2 separate regions of the Homo sapiens genome follow, and region 1 is linked to region 2. Evidence: promoter capture Hi-C in human tissues and cell types (Jung and others, 2019). All regions are on one chromosome and are shown on one strand. Each heading gives the region's core, a stretch centred on a gene start or on the middle of the fragment in contact. The rest is flanking DNA. Distances are from core to core; before and after follow the strand shown. Region 1 overlaps ZNF346 (zinc finger protein 346). Region 2 holds the start of LMAN2 (lectin, mannose binding 2).

Region 1 (3,417 bases), core at 228-2,727, 310 kb before region 2:
TCCTCTTGCCTCAGCCTGTTGAGTTTCTGGGATTATAGGTGTGAGCCACCACAACCGGCCCTGTGATGGTCTTTACTAACTCTCCTGCCCCGTCATTCTCTACCCCGTACTCTGCTTGTTTTCATAGCATTTCTAATTCTCTGTCATTGTCTTGCTTATTTTTTACTTTATACCCCATCTTCTTTGTTGGTATGGCCCCCAGCACTAAGTGCAGTGTTGACACAAAGCACGTATTATAAATATATTTGTGTGGACTATGTGAATGTACTCTCTAAGGCCAGAGAGTGCATTCCAGCAGAGAGGTACATTTATTTAGCAGGTGCTTACCTGCCCTTGCTGTGGGTTTGGGAGTCTGATTCTGAATATGCTTGAAACCTCATCTCTTGAACAAAACAAAATCCACAATCTCCAGGTGAGGAAGTGATGACTGAACTCTGACCCCTGGGTATTACCTTCCCCATGTGGGTTTCTTATTGTGAGAAGCCTCTGACCCTCTTTTTTTTCTTCTTTTTTCTTCTTCTTCTTGTGTGTGTGTGTGTGTGTGTGTGTGTGTGTGTGTGTGTCCGAGTTTTGCTGTTGCTCAGGCTGGAGTGCAATGGCACAATCTCGGCTCACTGCAACCTCTGCCTCCCAGGTTCAAGTGATTGTCCTGCCTCTGTCTCCCAAGTAGCAGGGATTACAGGCATGCTTCACCACACCCGGCTAGTTTTGTATTTTTAGTAGAGATGGGGTTTTACCATGTTGGCCAGGCTGGTCTCAAACTCCTGACCTCAGATGATCCACCCACCTTGGCCTCCCAAAGTGCTAAGATTACAGGCATTACCAATCGTGCCTGGCCACCTCTGACCCTCTTTTAAAAGTTCTGGGCCAATTTTGTTTATAGAGTCATTTCTCTTGGTTTTTCAGAGCATAGCTAAGACAGGCAAGGTCTTTCACAAAAATTTACCATTTAAAAGAAAAATGCAGAAATAAAAAGAGATCATTAGGGGCAGAAATACAGCCCTTCTGCCTAAAAGGGCTGACATAGGTAAGCTTTAGATTTTGTGGATTAAGGAGAGACATCTTAAAAGCTCCCCACCAAGAACCTCTTCCAGGGCATCGACTTTTTTTTTTTTAAGACAGGGGCTTGCTCTGTTATCCAGGCTGGAGTACAGTGGCACTAACATGGCTTGCCATAGCCTTGACCTCCTGAGCTCAAGCAATCCTTCTGTCTCTGTCTCAGCCTTAGCCTCCCATGAAGCTGGAACCACAGGCATGTGCCACCACCCCCGGCTAGTTTTTGGTTTGTTGGTGTGTTTGTTTCTATGTAGAGACAGAGTCTCACCATCTTGCCCAGGCTGGTCTCAAACTCCTGGGCTCAACCCATCCTCCCACCTCAGCCTCCCAAAATGCTGGGATTACAGGTGTGAGCCACTGTGCCTAGCCTTGACCACTTTTTGGCTGAGACCAGGAGATTAAAAATGTGGGCCTGCCCTCCTCTCCCAGTTTTAGACTCTGCCTCTGCCTCTGCCTCACATTGCCAGCGCCATGATAGAACTCATGCCTTGGCCGGGCGCGGTGGCTCACGCCTGTAATCCCAGCACTTTGGAAGGCCAAGGTGGGTGGATCACGAGGTCAGGAGATCGAGACCATCCTGGCTAACACGATGAAACCCCGTCTCTACTAAAAATACAAAAAAATTAGTTGGGCGTGGTGGTGGGTGCCTGTAATCCCAACTACTCGGGAGGCTGAGGCAGGAGAATGGTGTGAACTTGGGAGGCGGAGCTTGCAGTGAGCCGACATCATGCCACTGCACTCCAGCCTGGGTGACAGAGCGAGACTCCCTCTCAAAAAAAAAAAAAACAAACAAAAATGAACTTATGCCTTGGGAGAGATTTTACCTCCTCTTCTCTTCTCAAAAAGGTAAGACTGTTCTCCAGGCACAATAATTTAAGCACAGGTTAATACCATGTTTCATATAGTGTGGCACTTATATAATACGTTATGTGATTTTATTTTATTTATTTATTTAGAGACAGAGTCTAGCTCTGTCACCCAAGTTGGAGTTAGTGGCACAACCTCAGCTCACTACAACCTCTGCCTCCTGGGTTCAAACAATTCTCCTGCCTCAGCCTCCCGAGTAGCTGGGATTATAGGTGCCTGCCACCACACCTGGCTAATTTTTGTATTTTTAGTAGAGACAGGGTTTCACCATGTTGGCCAGGCTGGTCTCGAACTCCTGATCTCAGGTGATCTGCCCACCTCGGCCTCCCAAAGTGCTAGGATTACAGGCGTGAGCCACCACGCCCCACCCTGTTATGTGATTTTAAATGTTTCAAAGTCAGATCAAGAACAATGAGAAAAGTATTCCTTTTTCGAGTCTTTCAGTCCTCCTGATTCTATCTGGGAAGAAGTTTCAGTTGGGTGCTACCATATCTTAAAACCTCTCAGCACAGTTGCTGTTCTCTTCTTCCTGGGGAATGCTCCAAGCCTCATTTTTATCATATTTATTTTTATTGGTATCTGCTTAAGTTTATGATCTAAAGATTCCTTTTTAAAAGAAGTTCCTAAGTAAAGAAAGTTGGCATACATAAAATTATAAAATAAGTAATAGTGTAGGTGGTGTGAGAACACAGCATGAGTCACGGTGGCAGTAGGAAAGGCTGGCTGAGGTCTGCCAGTGTCCTAGTATGGCATCCCATCATTCAGTGCCTGTGTTTGAGGCAGGGTTCAAAGGCAGTGCTGTTGAGGTAGTGTTTGTCAACTCAATGATTTCTTGTTTTCCCCTCTATAGTGGAGCACATGATCCAGAAGAACCAATGTCTCTTCACCAACACCCAGTGTAAGGTTTGCTGCGCCTTGCTTATTTCTGAGTCCCAGAAGCTGGCACATTACCAGGTATGCCATCATACTTTTAGAACTGCGTTTCTTTTCAGACCTGGTGCCAAACCACTAATTCTCTCTGGCTTGCATGGTGAAGTGTAATTGCTGCTTAGCCACCCAGATGTTGCCTCCATGCATGTTGGCTTGTGACTTGAAGATTGACTTAATCTCCTTGAGTCTCATCTCCCCCATCCAAATCAGGATCATTATATGTGTATCTTCCCTTGCAGCTTGGCATAGCATAAAGTATGAGCTTTGGCTTTAAATAGATCTGACTTTAAATCAAAACTCTGCTACTCATCTTGAGCAAGAAACTTCATCATTTTTAGATGTAGTTTCCTCATCCATAAAATAGAAATGGTCATAATTTTCTCATAGATTGTGAAGATTAAATTTGGTAGCTGTAAAATGCCTTGCACAGAGCAGGAACTCAAACTTCCCTCACCTCCTCCTCAAAACTTTTTGTGAGGATGAATCAGATGAAAATCTCATAAGTGTTTTTGAGTGCCTTAAGTATGAAGTAGCATTTGGCTATCTTTGATCTTTCTCCTGGGT
Region 2 (3,288 bases), core at 270-2,769:
CAGGAAGGAGAGGAGGAGCAGAGGGGACGGGCAGACCAGGCAACACAAGGACAGTGTGGGTTCCCAGAACTAAACAAGAAAGTCAACCAGCAGGGATCAGAGAGCAGGGTGATGGAGAAAACTAGAACACTGGCCAACAGCTTAAGCCATGGGAAGGGCTGAGATTAGGCAAGCTGGGGCAGGAGCAGGTCCCGCTCCAAGCTGTAACCCAGCCCCAAATTATTCTTCTTTCCCCTTTTTCCTCACCTTGACTGCCTCAGTGTGGATTCTGTGTAGCAGCTGTCATTGGCCACTGCTCACATACTACATACTACATACTCTGAGGCAAAGGTCACAGACACTAGAACTGCCCACAGGTCCAGTCCCTCCACACTACTGATGACAAGACCCTCAACCAAGCATTGCAAAAAGGGTTCTAAGGGGTTCCTCCACTGTCCAGGTGAAAAGAGTCAAGTACATCGAGTGAACTGCTGGGCTTAGAGATCAGACAAATCAGAGTTTAAATACTGTTTATGACATTTGCTAGCTGGGTTATCTTTGTATAGTCATGAAAGCCATCTATTTCAAACAGCTTGTTTGAAAATTAAATGCAATAAGGCATGGCAAGGTCAGTGCCTAATACACAGCAAAACACCCAATAAAGATCCAGTTCGCTCGGTTCTTCCCATTACTGAGGGGGTTCAAGGCAGACAGCCTGACAGTTCCACTACTTTCTGGCTATGTAACTTTGGGTAAGGCCCTTTCAAACCTGAGTCTTAGCTTCTCAGTGGGTAAAATGGAGATAACATTACTCATCTCGCATGGCTTTTAAAGTGAGGAGGATGTAAAGTGTCAAGCGCAGCTCCTGACACATAGTAAGTACCCAATACCCATCGCCTCTTATTATTGGTGGGTGTGACCGAGATGAGGAAAAGGCCAGGGACGGAGGTGCAAACCTATAAACGAAGCTGGGGTCTCAGCTGCTCGGGAGGCAGGGACTAGCAGCCAACCGCACAGTACGCCTATCCTCTTGAGAACCACTCACCTGGTGGTTCCAGATAGAGCCCTCTTTGCTGCGCTCGTCAGGGGTCAGACGTACGTACTGGCTCGTGAGCATAGTGCTGCCCTGGAAGTCCCAGAGGGGCATAGAGCTGGAACCGACCCCTGTGGGAAGAGACAGGTGCTAAGAGGCCACGCCAGGACTGGCCTCACCAGAGGCAGGAAACCCACAGAGATGCTCTGCTCAGGAGAAAGGGCACGCCTTCCCCTAGCCCTGTTCAGCCTCGCCCTCACTCTTCACTCATTCCCGCCCCAAGGGCTTCACCTTGGTAGGGCTTAATGAGCGAATGCTCCCGCTTGAGATGTTCACTGTTGCCGTCAGTTATATCCGCAGTCACAGACCCCAACAACAAAAGAAGAAAGAGAGGTGTAGTGGGGCCAGGGCCGGGGCCGAGAAGCCCAGGCCTTCCCAGGCACCGCCGGCCCCAGCCCCAACGCCAAATCCAGCCTTCCGCCGCCATTCTCCTCTCCTCTCGGCCACTTCCGCCCTAGAACTTCCGCCTTCCGGGGGTCCCATCTATTGGCCTCCGGCCGGAAGCTCTTCAACTTTACTGTCGCCAGGGAGTCAAAAAGCAAAGCCTCCGCAGCAGACGGGGCGGCAGCTGCATTGGCCGGGCAGCCTCTCATCCTGGTTGAGTGCAGTTTCATCTCCTTAGAGGCTCCAAGGCACACGCCGGCCAGCCCCAGCAATGGGTTCTTTCGAGCGACAAGAGCTGTAACCAGTCACGGAACAGCACGTTAGGCTTGCGAGCCAATGAGGAGCAGAGGGATGGTTGGAGCCGGCGGGAGCGCGAGGGCCGTCCGCGACTCGGGGCATGCTGGAATTTGTAGTTTTTGTCGGTCGCTCTAATGGGGCGGATTCGCGAAGACTAGGACGTCTTGGGCTTCTGGCCGCAAGTCCCGTCTCTGGAATAACCTTTTCTAGTCCTGGAGAAAGGAGCTCTGAATTGAAGGCGGAGTCCTGCATTCCAACCCTTGTCCTCCCCGGGTGGCCCTGGGCAAGCCTTTAAGCCGTGCCTGCCGTCAGGCGCCCCAGCTTCGCGCCTTTGGAGACTCAGAATTCCCAATTATTTGAGGGCCTCCACTACCCTCAACTCCTCAGGCCTAGTCGGGTTGAAGCAAGAGGAACAGACACAGATCCTGGCCTGGGACCCCAGTGATGACTGGAACTCATCCCTATGCAAAAGAGCGCAGTGCCTGGTACAGCAAGTAACGTCCATGGAAGGCCCAGGAAAGCTGTGAATCAGAGGTCGAAAACTGGTGGCCTGCAGCTGAATAGAGCTCTGTTTTACCTGCCAATATTCTAATAAATGGCTTAACTACCAGTATTTTAAAGTCAGAATATAGAGGCTGGGCGTGGTGGCTCACGCCTGTAATCCCAGCACTTTGGGAGGCTGAGGCCGGCGGATCACGAGATCGGGAGATCGAGACCATCCTGGCTAGCACGGTGAAACCCCGTCTCTACTAAAAAATACAAAAAATTAGCCGGGCGTGGTGGCAGGTGTCTGTAGTCCCAGCTACTCGGGAGGCTGAGCCAGGAGAATGGCTTGAACCCAGGAGGCAGAGCTTGCAGTGAGCCGAAATCGCGTCACTGCACTCCAGCCTGGGCGACAGAGCGAGACTCTGTCACACACACACACACACACACACACACACACACACACACACACAAAGTCGGAATATGTACATTCACATCAGAAATCCAGACTTCCGGCTGAGCTCAGTGGCTGAGGCCTGTAATCCTAGCACTTTGGGAGGCAGAGGCGAGCAGATTACCTGAGCTCAGGAGTTTCAGACCAGCCTGGGCAACACGGTGAAACCCCGTCTCTACTAAAATACAAAAGAAATTAACGGCGTGGTGGCGGACACCTGTAGTCCCAGCTACTCGGGAGGCTGAGGCAGGAGAATTGCTTGAACCCAGGAGGCAGAGGTTGCAGTGAGCAGAGATCACGCCATTGCATTCCAGCCGGGGCGACAGAGCAAGACTCTGTCTCTACAAAAAAAAAAAAAAAGAAGAAGAAGAAGAAGAAAAGAAATCCAGACTTCCGTTTTTTTACCCAAAAAAAAAAAAAAAGAAGCAGCAGCAAAAGATCTAGGCACACATTCCCACAACAGAACAATAGGCTGGAGCTGAATGGGACTGCCCCTCCACCAATGCCTTCCTCTTCTAAGCTGGTCCCCACCTGGTCACTCGTTTACAGCACTTGCCTGGCTCCTCCAGACATTTGAATCAATGACTCCTGTTGTAGA

What was found. The method cuts DNA at HindIII sites, captures the fragments that hold promoters and counts their contacts. A contact is called where the count stands out against the background at its distance.
Region 1: a fragment that was not itself captured here is called in contact with the fragment with the promoter of LMAN2 in region 2 in 4 of the 25 tissues and cell types used here (IMR-90 fibroblasts, dorsolateral prefrontal cortex, lymphoblastoid cells and 1 more).

The regions. Positions count from the first base shown.
Region 1 is chr5:177,038,353-177,041,769 of GRCh38, forward strand. ZNF346 (zinc finger protein 346) reads left to right here. Exons shown (of 7, transcript NM_012279.4): 2 at 2,774-2,877. Among named protein-coding and RNA genes, the nearest start is that of ZNF346, 17 kb to the left of the region's middle. RefSeq lists a silencer at 338-387. The HindIII fragment of the contact is 3,815 bases long and covers 1-3,385 here.
Region 2 is chr5:177,350,149-177,353,436 of GRCh38, forward strand. It overlaps LMAN2 (lectin, mannose binding 2), which reads right to left and starts at 1,520. Exons shown (of 8, transcript NM_006816.3): 1 at 1,304-1,520; 2 at 1,025-1,143. The coding sequence starts at 1,499. RefSeq lists enhancers at 1,461-1,650, 1,661-1,710 and a silencer at 1,605-1,819. The HindIII fragment of the contact is 12,408 bases long and covers 1-3,288 here.